Linked DNA regions of Homo sapiens: regions 2 and 3 are each linked to region 1. Evidence: promoter capture Hi-C in 16 types of primary human blood cells and fetal thymus (Javierre and others, 2016). All regions are on one chromosome and are shown on one strand. The core of a region is centred on a gene start or on the middle of the fragment in contact, and the rest is flanking DNA. Distances in the headings are between cores, read along the strand shown.

Region 1 (3,728 bases), core at 893-3,392:
ATTGTTTTTTCTACACACGTATGACGTGTGTAATAAAAATTAAACTTATTCATCAACTCAAATATTTATTGTGTACATAGTGCATATCAGGTACTATTTGTTTAAAAAAGGGGGGAGGGTGGAAGGGGGAGGGAGAAGGGGAGACGGATGGAGAGAGAGAAGGAAGGAAGGAGGGAGGGAGAGAAAGAGAGTTCCAGAAACATTAAACCTGGATTACAATGGTCCTCCACTACCTCAAGTTGTTCTTTTTCATTAAAACTGCTTTTCAATTTATACTTCTAGCCCCTTTGCCTCAAAAACAAAAGAAACAAAATCTACAAGCACTCTAATTTCTTTTCTTTCTACCATGTCTGATCCTCATCATCTTTCACCTAGCATTCTGCAAGAGCCTCTTATCTACTTAGTCTCCCTGTTTCTGGGTCCAAATCAAACCCATTCCACCCTCAGTCCTATCCAGTGACCTATCCAAAACAGAAACCACATCTTATTCCTCTACTTTAAAACCTTTCACTGACTCCTGACGGCCTCTAAAATCAAATTCTTTAGTATGGCACGCCAGGAGCTCCAATATCTGGCCCCTGTCTCTCCCTTATTTCATTTGGGAACACACCTTACCTCCAACAGCAGAGGGTGGCTTCTCATACATACCGATCTTTTTCTTGCCAACAAGACTTTAAGTTGTCCTTTCCACCTAGAATACCCTCGGACCCCATGCCCAATCTGTTAGTATTACCTTCAGGAAAAATCTTATGCACCTTGAAACCACATTGGATGACCCTATTCATCTCTCTAACACTGTACTTTTACATTGTCTCAACCTTAAAGTTCCTCTTACATGAGACTATCAATTCCAAAAGAACGGGAACTGTCTAAATCTTTTCCTTATCTGTAATATGAGGAAAAAGTAATACCAGCCTCAAAAATGAGATGTGGAATGTAGATATTTAACTCGGTGCTTGGCATACAGAAAACAGTTATCAAATGACTATCATTATTATCCACACTGTTAACTAGAGCTCAGCAGTGCATGACGTACAGTAAGACTTCAAATGTTTATTGAAAGACTGAACTCTGCAAAAAGGAATATTCCCATTTTACAACTGAAGAAACTGAGGAAGATTAACAGCACAAAGTCATAGAGCCACAAAAGGCAGTTAAGCTAACATCCAAACTCGAGTCTAACTCTAAAGCCCTGAATTCATTCTCAATGAATATACACTAGCTCCCTCTTGCTGAGAACTGACTTAACCTATTTCACTCTTAGAAAACAAACAAAACTAAGGCTTCTTTCCAGTATTACTTGTGTAACAGGCCCTGTTGTTATAATCGACATTTCTGGAAATCTGCATTTTTAGATTAACGTGAAGGAGTGTTTCAACTTCTCTGCAATTCAATTTCCTTGCCTACCATGAGATGTACTTGGATCTCAAAAAGATCATTTAATCTCTAAAATCCTGTGGTTCTTTAATTGGGTGCTGTTATTTGCGGCGCCGTTCTTTCAGAGTTAGTTTGATACCGTTTATTTAGCCAGCATTTCCGATATGCAAAGCACAACTGCAGTAAATCAAACATTGGCCACCCTTTTCCAGCCCTAATGAAGTTCTCCCTAAGCCTTCACGAAGCAAGCCAGAGCTCTCCAGTATGCTGCAACCTAAAAGCATCGAGGTCACTAGGCTTGAAACGAGAGGTGCCTCCTTCGGAGCGACGGTCTTCGAAACTGATCTGGCCAGAGCAGGCCTAGATTCTGCGCTACAGCAAAACAGCAAAAACAAACAAACATATATATATATATCACCAAGCAGCCCCTCTTTTCTGTCCTCCTCGACCAAACTAGGAGTACACTTCCCAGTATGGCAACCCTCCCTCGGGGCTTCTCACGGTGGGGCTGCAGCGGCCTCCCTAAGAGGGCTAAGGCCGCAGTGTCCTTGCCGCCGCCTGCAGGCCCGTGCAGAGCCCAGGGCTCTCCTGCGCCCAAAACTAAGGGAGACACGGAGAGCAAGAGAAGGGCGGCGGCAGCGCCGGGCTCAGCTTGAGCCTCCTTACCCAGTGGGCGGTGAGGCCAGCCGCCCGGGCCCGGAGCGCCGCGGAGAAGAACATGGCGGGCCACACTGTTCACCTTCCCCAGCCGCGCCAGGCGAGAATCCCGAGCGCGCCCAGGGCGCACAGCGTGCGCGCTCCCGACCCCAGGCCTAGGCGACCCGGACGGCACGCCGCTCCCTTCGCCGAGGGGCGGGGGCTGACGGGAGGGAGCGAGGGCGCGCGGGGGCTGCTGGGGCCCTGTGGGCGGAGACTTCCCGGGGGAGGGGCGGGGACCAGTCCGTGCTCGGAAAGGGAGGTGTCCTACGGGCCGCTGCAGGGGTCCCGGCCTTGAAAAGAAGCGTCCCGGAGCTGCACCTTGGGCTCCTGGGTAACGAAGCGCCCGCCTGGATTTATAGGGGTGAGCTTCCCTCATGGAGAGCCTTGTGAGGATTAGCCACCTCCTCTTATATTGCTGTTAGTTAAAAATAAAGTCGGGTTGCAACCCACTATAAATCTTATTCTACATGTTACGAATTCAAGACACAGAGGGCTGCTATCCAGTGTGCTAGCCATAGACACCAAATGTCTTGGTTCCCAATCTTTTGCATTAGAGATATGTGCGACATATTTAGGGGTTAAATGGTATGATGTCTGGAATTTGCTTGAGAATAGTGGGGAGCGGGAGGTGAAAAATAAAGCAAGTTGGCCGTTAAGTAAGGCCATAGAAGCTGCATGGTCGTTCTTATTTACTATTCTCGGTACTTTTGTACATATTAGATATTTTCCATAATAAAGCTGAAAAAAAAACCCACTTCCTTCTTCATGTTTGTTTGGTTATCTCTGGAAATTCCAACAAGTATTTATTCAGTAACAGCTCTAATGTGCACAGCACTATTTCCTGGTGTGGACTTCCTCTTGATTTTTTACGTCACTGCCTTCTTTTCTGGAGTGTCACGTCCTGTACCCACCCCCTTCCTTTTGCCCATTTTCTTTGCTATAATAAACTTGTGAATAATTTCTAGAACATTCACAGCAGCACAGGGATTTTAAAAATTTATCCCTCATTAGTTTAAAAACTCAGAAATATTCCATTGCAACCCCTATGAATCATATTTCGCAAATCACAGAATTCAAGACACAGAGGACTGCTGCCCAGTGAGCTAGAAATAGATACCAAATGCCTTGGTTCCCACTCCTTTGCCTTATATTTTATGTTAGTTTGCCTCTCCTAAATTAGCTTCAGTATTTCCCTTTAAAAGGAAAAGACAGTCTGGCCCTTAATGTAAATGTATTTTGTTATAAAGTTACCTAAATACTTATACACCTGGCCGGGCGCGTGGCTCACGCCTGTAATCCCAGCACTTTGGGAGGCTGAGGTGGGCAGATCACGAGGTCAGGAGATCGAGACCATCCTGGCTAATACGGTGAAACCCCGTCTCTACTGAAAATACAAGACATTAGCCGGGCATGGTGGCAGGCGCCTGTAGTCCCAGCTACTCGGGAGGCTGAGGCAGGGGAATGGCGTGAACCCGGGAGGCGGAGCTTGCAGTGAGCCGAGATCGCGCCACTGCACTCCAGCCTGGGCGACGGAGCGAGACTCCGTCTCAAAAATAAAAAATAAAAAATAAAAATACTTATACACCTAACACTATTGTGCACATACTTACTGTTCTTATACAACTAAAGCCAAAACATGTCACAAATACTTG
Region 2 (3,728 bases), core at 646-3,145, 230 kb before region 1:
GTCCATTATTCAACTGTAAGCCCATATAAAACTATTAATATTGTATTATAATTTTAAGATATTTAATTTTAATTCTTAGAATCAAAACAAAATTTTAAATGGAAATTATTCAGGCTTATTTAGACAGAATAAAGCAGCTCAAAGCAAGAAGTAGAGTCCACAGAGTCACTTCTTAAATAATTGAGCAAATAACAAAAGGCTGTTTAATTACTAATTGCATTAAAAACTCTAGGTAATTATTAGAATGTGACGATATTCTTTTTTTTTTTTTTCTTTTAGACGTTGTCTCGCTCTGTCGCCCAGGCTGGAGTGCAGTGGCGCAATCTCGGCTCACTGCAACCTCCGCCTCCCGGGTTCATGCGATTCTCCTGTCTCAGCCTCCCGAGTAGCTGGGATCACAGGAGCCTATCACCACGCCCCGCTAATTTTTGTATTTTTAGTAGAGACGGGGTTTCACCATATTGGCCAGGCTGGTCTCGATCTCCTGACCTCAGGTGATCCACCCGCCTCGGCCTCCCAAAGTGTGGGATTACAGGGGTGAGCTACCGCGCCCGGCCAAGATATTCTTTTAATTCTATTAGTACCACACATTCTTCAAAGTTATTAAGAAGATACTACAGTTCAAAAAGAAGAAGGAAAAAAGACTAGCACAAACACAGTCTGACAGGGGCCAAACAGTATACAGTTATTAAACTTTAAATACGGGAAGATATCATTTCTTCAGGTTAAAACACCTCCCTATCAAACATAATAAATTAAAATAAATGACTACTGACGTAAGAGGGATAAATAGTGAGTTTATGGGGGCATTTATGATTACTCTAAACTTTTATTCTAAGTGTTACAAAGTACATTAAAGGAAAAATAATAAAAGGGTGAAAAGAATAAAGGGCTTTGGACCTGGTATGAGTCAATTTTGAAAGAGAAAACCCTGGTGATCGTTACTGAGGCTCACAAAGCATTCCCTAAAGACCGTTAGTAACTAATTTTCTAATGTATCTAACGCCGCATACCAAGTAGGATGATTTCTGGAGCAACCAGTACATATTTGCGGAGGCCAAATAAGGTTATTTGGAGACTAACTGTCGTGGAACTAGTTTTCATCCTACAACCATGAAAACTGGGATTTCCCCCCTTTCCCATCTTTTACGGTTGTCTTATGAAATGTTCCACAAATTCATCTTACTCCCCAAATTTCACTGGAAAAAGTATTCAAGTAACTACGACCATGTCGAAATCAGGTAATAGAATTAAAGGACTTATCTTTTCCTAAGGAGTTAGAAACCATCATGCATCAAAATTGTTTCGCATACATCACGCCCAAGTTTCTCGTTAAGGGAGATGGCACTGACAGCGACCAGGGCAGAGCCGAGCCTCTGTAGAGCGGTGCCAGGGCCCCGAAGGCGCCGGACGCCCCGCGAGGCAGAGGCCGGTAGCGGTGTGGGGGACCGGGCACCCGGAACCACCCCCACCCCGGCTCGGCCGACGCGGGCTGCGGAGGACGCGGGCCGGCCCAGAGATGGTCTGGACCAAAGCGGCGCAGAGATGCTGCTGGCTCCCGGCGTCCGGCCTGTGCGCCCGCGCCCAGCACCCCCACTTTGTCCTCCGCGCAGCCGGGCCCAGGCTTCTCCCGGCCCCCGCGAAGCTCGCCGCGGCCCCGGGCCTCTAGAGGGCCGAGCTCGGCGCCCGGCCCCTTCCCAACCAAGAGGCCAAGAGGCTGCACAACCCCCCAGCCGCTCCCACTCACCATGCGCCACGGTCCCGCGAAGTCGCCCACCCCTAGATCCCCGCCGGGTCGGCCGAGCCCGGGGCGCGCTGCGGCGGCTTTGAGTGCGAGGCCAGGCCGCGCCTCCCGCCGTCCCCTCAGCGCAGCGCCCGCGAGCCTCGGGCACCTTAAAGAGACAGGCCCGCCCGCCGCCCTCCTCCCGGCTCCTTGCTCCCCGCCCCTGCTCCCCTCTTCCCCTCCGCCCCCGCTGGGGTCCACAGCCGCCAGCTCCCGCCAGGAGGCGTCTCTCACTCCCCCGGCGCTCCTGTCAGCGCGCACGCCCCCATCTCGGCCCCGCCCACTCCCCCCGCCCCTCCCAACGCCACGCCCCCTCCGCGCCACCCGGTTTCGCCCCTCCCTCGTGCCACGCCTCCACCGCAGGCTCCCGCCCGCCCGCCGGCCCGCAGGCCACGCCCCCAGGCGCACCCACCCCAGCTGCTCAACGCGATTTCCCTTCGCGCTTCTCCGCACCGGGATCCCCAGTCCCTCAGGTTCCGACAGACCCTCCTGTCAGGCCCATTCTCCGGGCCCCCTCAGTTGCAGTGTTAAGATCAACAGTGTTAAGATTAAAGCCTTGTGATGTGCTAGCCACTACGCTGAGGATATGCCGTGTACTAAAATTCCTCAGGACTCCTCACAGCTGCCCTGTAAGGAAGCGGCCATGGCCGGGTTCTAGCGATGCGAGGCCGAGGCTCGGGGCGCTGAGTAGCCTAGCGCGTCGCCGAGGAGAGCTGGCACGTGAACCCCTTGTCGTTTGCCGTCAGAGGTAGGATTTATATAAAATGCGCGTTTCCTAGGTCTACCTCAGACCTACTGAATAAGGATCTCCAAGGGTAGAGCTTTCGAACTTCGTTCACCAATTCGATAAAACTTGCCAGGCTCCTTGTGAGTGGCTGGCGCTGAGCTCTGCATCGGAGCTCTGCATCGGGAGTCGAGAAGAGGGGGCGCCATGGATCCGGGCGCGGAGGTCGCGCAGCCTAGGTAGAAGGTGCGCGGTTAGCACGTAGGTTAAAAACATTGAGAATGACACTCAGTTCTTTCCCACAACTCTGGGTTGCTTTTTTTTTTTTTTCTTTTGAGACAAGGTCTCACTCTCACCAGGCTGGAGGGCAGTGACAACATCAGGCTCGCTGCAGCCTCCACCTCCTAGGCTCAAGCAATCCTCCCGCCTCAGCCTCCCGAGTAGCTGGGGCTACGGGCGCGCACCACCACGCCTGGCTAATATTTTATTTTTTTGTAGATATGGAGGTCTTGCTATGTTGCCCAAGCTGGTTTCAAATTTCGGGGCTCAAGCGATCCTCCCACCGCGGTCTCCTAAATCGTTGGGATGACAGGTGTGAACCATAGTGCCCGGCCGGAATTTGCTTTTTAAAGAAGATTCCAGGGTGATTAAGTTAGAGCCCGCTAGACCAGACCGTCCGCGGGGCACCTTCCCTTGGAAATGATGACCTAGTGTCAAACCCTTATGCTGGTAAATCGTAAATGCCTACCACCCACCTTTGTTGATTGGAAGGAAACAGAATGAAAACAGCTGATTGGCTGGGGGTGGATTGCATTACTGATGTTAGCCCACTTTTGTACAATAAATATGGGTTTTAAAAATCATCCTTGAAAATTATCCTAGAGAAATAATTAAGGGTATACCCAAATTTAAGTATAAGAATCTTATTCTTGGCATTATATACTAGTTAAGTGAATTAGGAAACTTCCGATCAATGCACTAATTCAGCCATTAAAAAGTGATACCGCAGATCAGAGGTTCTCAAACTTTTTCGTCTCGGAATCCCTTTACACTCCTGAAAATTATGGAGCATGCCAAAGAGGTTTTGTGTATGTGTGCTACATCTGTTAATACTTTCAAAATTAAAACAATTTTTTACATATTCATTATTTCATTTAAAAATAACAAACCCATTATATGATAACAAATATTTAATGAAAAATAAGTATATATTTTAAAACA
Region 3 (3,728 bases), core at 623-3,122, 140 kb before region 1:
TCCATAATATTTTTTCCTTTCTGATTAAGGAAGCAATGTACTGACAGACATTCTGGCACAAGCTCCTTATCTTGAGGGCTGGTAACAAACAGTTAATGGAAAGGCTACTCTGAGTAGCACTGGCATAAAGCACAATGACTAATGAATAAACCACATTTAGAATGCTACGTACATGATACCCTCTTAGTTACTCCAAATTTATTAAGTTCTGAAATTAATAATCTTGGTTATTCTTTAACTTTCAACACTTAAAGTGTATCTGTCACATAGATGATGTGCTATATTATTAGATAATGCTATCTGGCTTCATATATACAAACATCTATGGGCAGTTACATGATTATATATTAGTATGTTCTGAATTTAGATTGGATGAAGTTTGGTACAGTTAAATCTAACAAGGACCTCATGTAAATTAAGTAATAAATTTTGGGTATTTTCATCAGTCTTTTTCAGCAACTCCAAAATCTTTATATGATACTTACTGATGATTTTTGTATCATTCCTTGAGGGACTTTGACCAAGCAATAATTCAGGCACATTCACCATGTGGAAAATAAATATTCTGAAAAATCAATACATAGCTGATGAACACATGAAACAATCAAGATCAGTGAAAATCAAAAAGGTTCTAGAAGGTGTGTTCTGCACTAATTAAACATGTAAGTTGAAATAAAATACCTCCCTTCTTCCGTGGGAAAATTTGTTGCAGCACTTCTTTCTAAAAGCAAGTTTATAACAAAGCTGCTTTTCATAGCTACAATTTTCAGAAGCGACAGCAATTAAAAGAATTAGTAGCGATTTTTGAGATTTCTTAATATCCAGAGGGCAGCCAAATATGTAATATTTAGAATAGCATAACAGTTAACATATCATATAAACAATTTTTACCTTTAAAATCTTATTTTCTTTCCTTTGAGACAGGGTCTCACTCTGTTGTCCAGGTTGGAGTACAGTGGTGCAAACACAGCTCATGGCAGCCTCGACCTCCCAGGCTCAAGTGAACCTCCTACCTCAGCCCCATCCCGAATAGCTGGGACTCCTGGTGCGTGCCACCATGCCCTGCTAATTTTTGTATTTTCTGTAAAGATGGGGTTTCACCATGTTGCCTGGGATGGTCTTGAACTCCTGGACTCAGGTGATTCACCCGTCTCGGCCTCCCAAAGTGCTGGGATTACAGGCGTGAGCCACTGCACCCAGCCTTAAAATATTACTCTCTTTCTCACCGAAGTTAATGCAATTTCAGCTATTATGATCTTTATTCCAGTTTAGACTGGACAAAAACGTTCAAAGGACTCTCAGTTTAGCTGGAAGATGGACTTACAAAAATTTTGAAAGCTGAAATTGACAGGAGTCAATTATGTTTTATGTTTTCTCCATTTTCTTAATCAGCTGTATCCTCAGTACCTAAGCAATGCCTAACCTATAATGAGTGCTCAAAAACAGCTGTTGAATAATTGAAAGAAGGAAAAGGAAGAAGAGGAGTTTAGATGACTCTCGAGTGTATGACTTATATGTGCAGATGAATGATGTTACACTAATTAAGATAGAACACGAAGAGGAGTGTAATGGTGGGGGTATGCTGATTTTTGAGATTTTGCTGAGGAAATCCAGGTGGAAATATTCAGAGAACAGCCAAATATGTAAGTTTGAAGCTTAAGAGAAATGTCTGAGATAGATGTATTTTAAAATCATTACATAAATGGTAGTAAAAACTCTAAGTGTGGGTGAAATTTACTTGAGAGAGTATGCAGCATGAGAAGAGGGTCCAGAAAGTAAAAATCTTGAGAAAACCAACACAGGGGTGTTTATGGAAAGGAAATGAGGAAGTTACGAAGACAAGAATCTAGGAGGAAATTGAGAAGGAAGAGTCTGGGGAGCTGGACGAAAGCCAAGGAGAACTTTGTCCCAAGAACCAAGGCAAGAGAATTTTAGGAAGAATATGGTCAACAGTGTCAAATTCTATGGAGAATTTCAAAGGATAAGGACTGAAATACCACTGAGGGGTCTGGCAGTGACAGCATGTGCAATCTTAGTAAAACTAGGTTCCATGGAGGAGTCAGTCTACAATGTACCTTAAGAAGCTTAGTTGTGAAGGGAAGGGCATAAATGATTAAATAAACGGGGATGCAGGGCAGGAGAAGATTTTGTTGAGTCTTGTAAATATATGTGTAAAAAAATTATCAATGATTGTGTCCGACTGTACTTTGACCTTTCCATCCATCCAAATCATCATCTCCTCTGCCACTAGCTACCTAAGACACGTCTCCTTAATGGCCTGGTATACATCCTTCCAGATTTCGCTCCATGCTAATAAAATTTTACACAAACATGTACGTAAACATACATACAGATTTTAAAAACACTGTTCATTTTACAAAAATGAGATATAACTATTCTTGATTTTTTGAACTCAACAATACCTTATAAAAATGTCTTCAAGTAACCCTACAACTCCAGGCACAGCACTGACATGCTTTTCCATGGCTGTGCAATAGTTTATGGTGAGGCTATACATTGATTTAATCAACCAATCCCCTAGTGATGGCTATATTTTTTGCCCCTAAAAAGAATGTTATAATAAACATAGGATACTCCCACAAGTTTGACTGCTAGATCATGAAGCATGAGTATTTTTAAGAGCATTTTTGTGATGGTAAATTTTGTACTTACACACAAGTGGACAGAATGTTATAGAGACAATTTGTCTCAGCTCCAGTGACCATCAATCTTTGACCAATTCACACCTCCATTCACCCCATCCATGTATCATTTTGAAGATCTTGTTCATATCCTATCATTTCATTGATAGATATTTCAAGTATGTATCTCTAGGACTCTTGAGTTTTGTTAGCTGTTGCTAGACTGTTTTTCAAAAAGATGGTAAAATTTGCATAACCTCCCTTTTTAACCCTTTCCTTATTAGGTAACCACTTCATAAGTTGTTGGTTTATTCTCCCACTATTTCTTTTTTTAAAATGTGTAAGAAAATATATGTATTTATATGCTTTTAAAATCTTTAAATGTTTGCAATTATCCTTTTACCCTGACAGGTGAGTAGTATCTCAGCCAGGTACAGGATTCTTATGTTGCAGTTCTTTTCTCTCAGTAGTCTATCTTCCAGTATTGCAAATCTGAAGTCCAGTGCCAACCTGACAGTATTTCTTTGCCCATAACTTGTCACTTCATAGCTAAAGAATCTGGCCAATGTATGTCAAGGGGTATATATGTGTGTTTTCATCAAATCAATCTGAAGCTCAGTGAACTTCAAAACTGATAGGCTTTTTCGGCTCAGAAAAATTTTCTTCTATTATTTGCATAAATATTATCTATCTTCCATCTGTTTTTCTCCTTTTTAAATTCCTATAAATAACTATTATACACGTTAGTTCTGTTACGTCTCCTGGATCTATTCCTTAGGTCTTTTACCTTTTCTTTCATGATTCTCTTTGAATTTTTGCTCTATGTTTTGGAGATTTATCTTATTTTTCCAGTCTAATAATTGAAGTCTCCAGTTGAATAATTTAAGTCTCCACAGTGACTATCCCCCACTTCATCAACTGAGTTTTAAGCTCAGAAAAGTATTTTTATGCTGTACTTGAATTTTCTTAAGTGCCCATTTTTTGTTGTTGTTGAAGCTGTTTCCTCTAATAGTTTCACTTAGGTGGGTTAACATTCTGTTTGTTTAAATTTATCATTCTCTCACTTTTCTAGGCAATCCTGGAGGG

What was found. The method cuts DNA at HindIII sites, captures the fragments that hold promoters and counts their contacts. A CHiCAGO score of 5 or more calls a contact.
Region 2: the fragment with the promoter of TWSG1 here is called in contact with the fragment with the promoter of NDUFV2 in region 1 in 13 of 17 cell types (neutrophils, monocytes, fetal thymus and 10 more); the score reaches 21.2 in neutrophils.
Region 3: a contact is called between a fragment that was not itself captured here and the fragment with the promoter of NDUFV2 in region 1, in 2 of 17 cell types (total CD8 T cells and activated CD4 T cells). The highest score is 6.5, in total CD8 T cells.

Annotation. Positions count from the first base shown.
Region 1 is chr18:9,101,113-9,104,840 of GRCh38, reverse strand. NDUFV2 (NADH:ubiquinone oxidoreductase core subunit V2) reads right to left here and starts at 2,142. Exons shown (of 8, transcript NM_021074.5): 1 at 2,044-2,142. The coding sequence starts at 2,097. RefSeq lists an enhancer at 1,073-1,782 and a silencer at 2,055-2,414. The HindIII fragment of the contact is 6,653 bases long and covers 1-3,728 here.
Region 2 is chr18:9,332,940-9,336,667 of GRCh38, reverse strand. TWSG1 (twisted gastrulation BMP signaling modulator 1) reads right to left here and starts at 1,895. Exons shown (of 5, transcript NM_020648.6): 1 at 1,748-1,895. It overlaps TWSG1-DT (TWSG1 divergent transcript), which reads left to right and starts at 2,199. Exons shown (of 3, transcript NR_183523.1): 1 at 2,199-2,531. RefSeq lists enhancers at 1,295-1,344, 1,107-1,607 and a silencer at 1,405-2,194. The HindIII fragment of the contact is 11,774 bases long and covers 1-3,728 here.
Region 3 is chr18:9,236,314-9,240,041 of GRCh38, reverse strand. All of the region lies in intron 8 of ANKRD12 (ankyrin repeat domain 12), which reads right to left. Among named protein-coding and RNA genes, the nearest start is that of TWSG1-DT, 96 kb to the left of the region's middle. The HindIII fragment of the contact is 429 bases long and covers 1,658-2,086 here.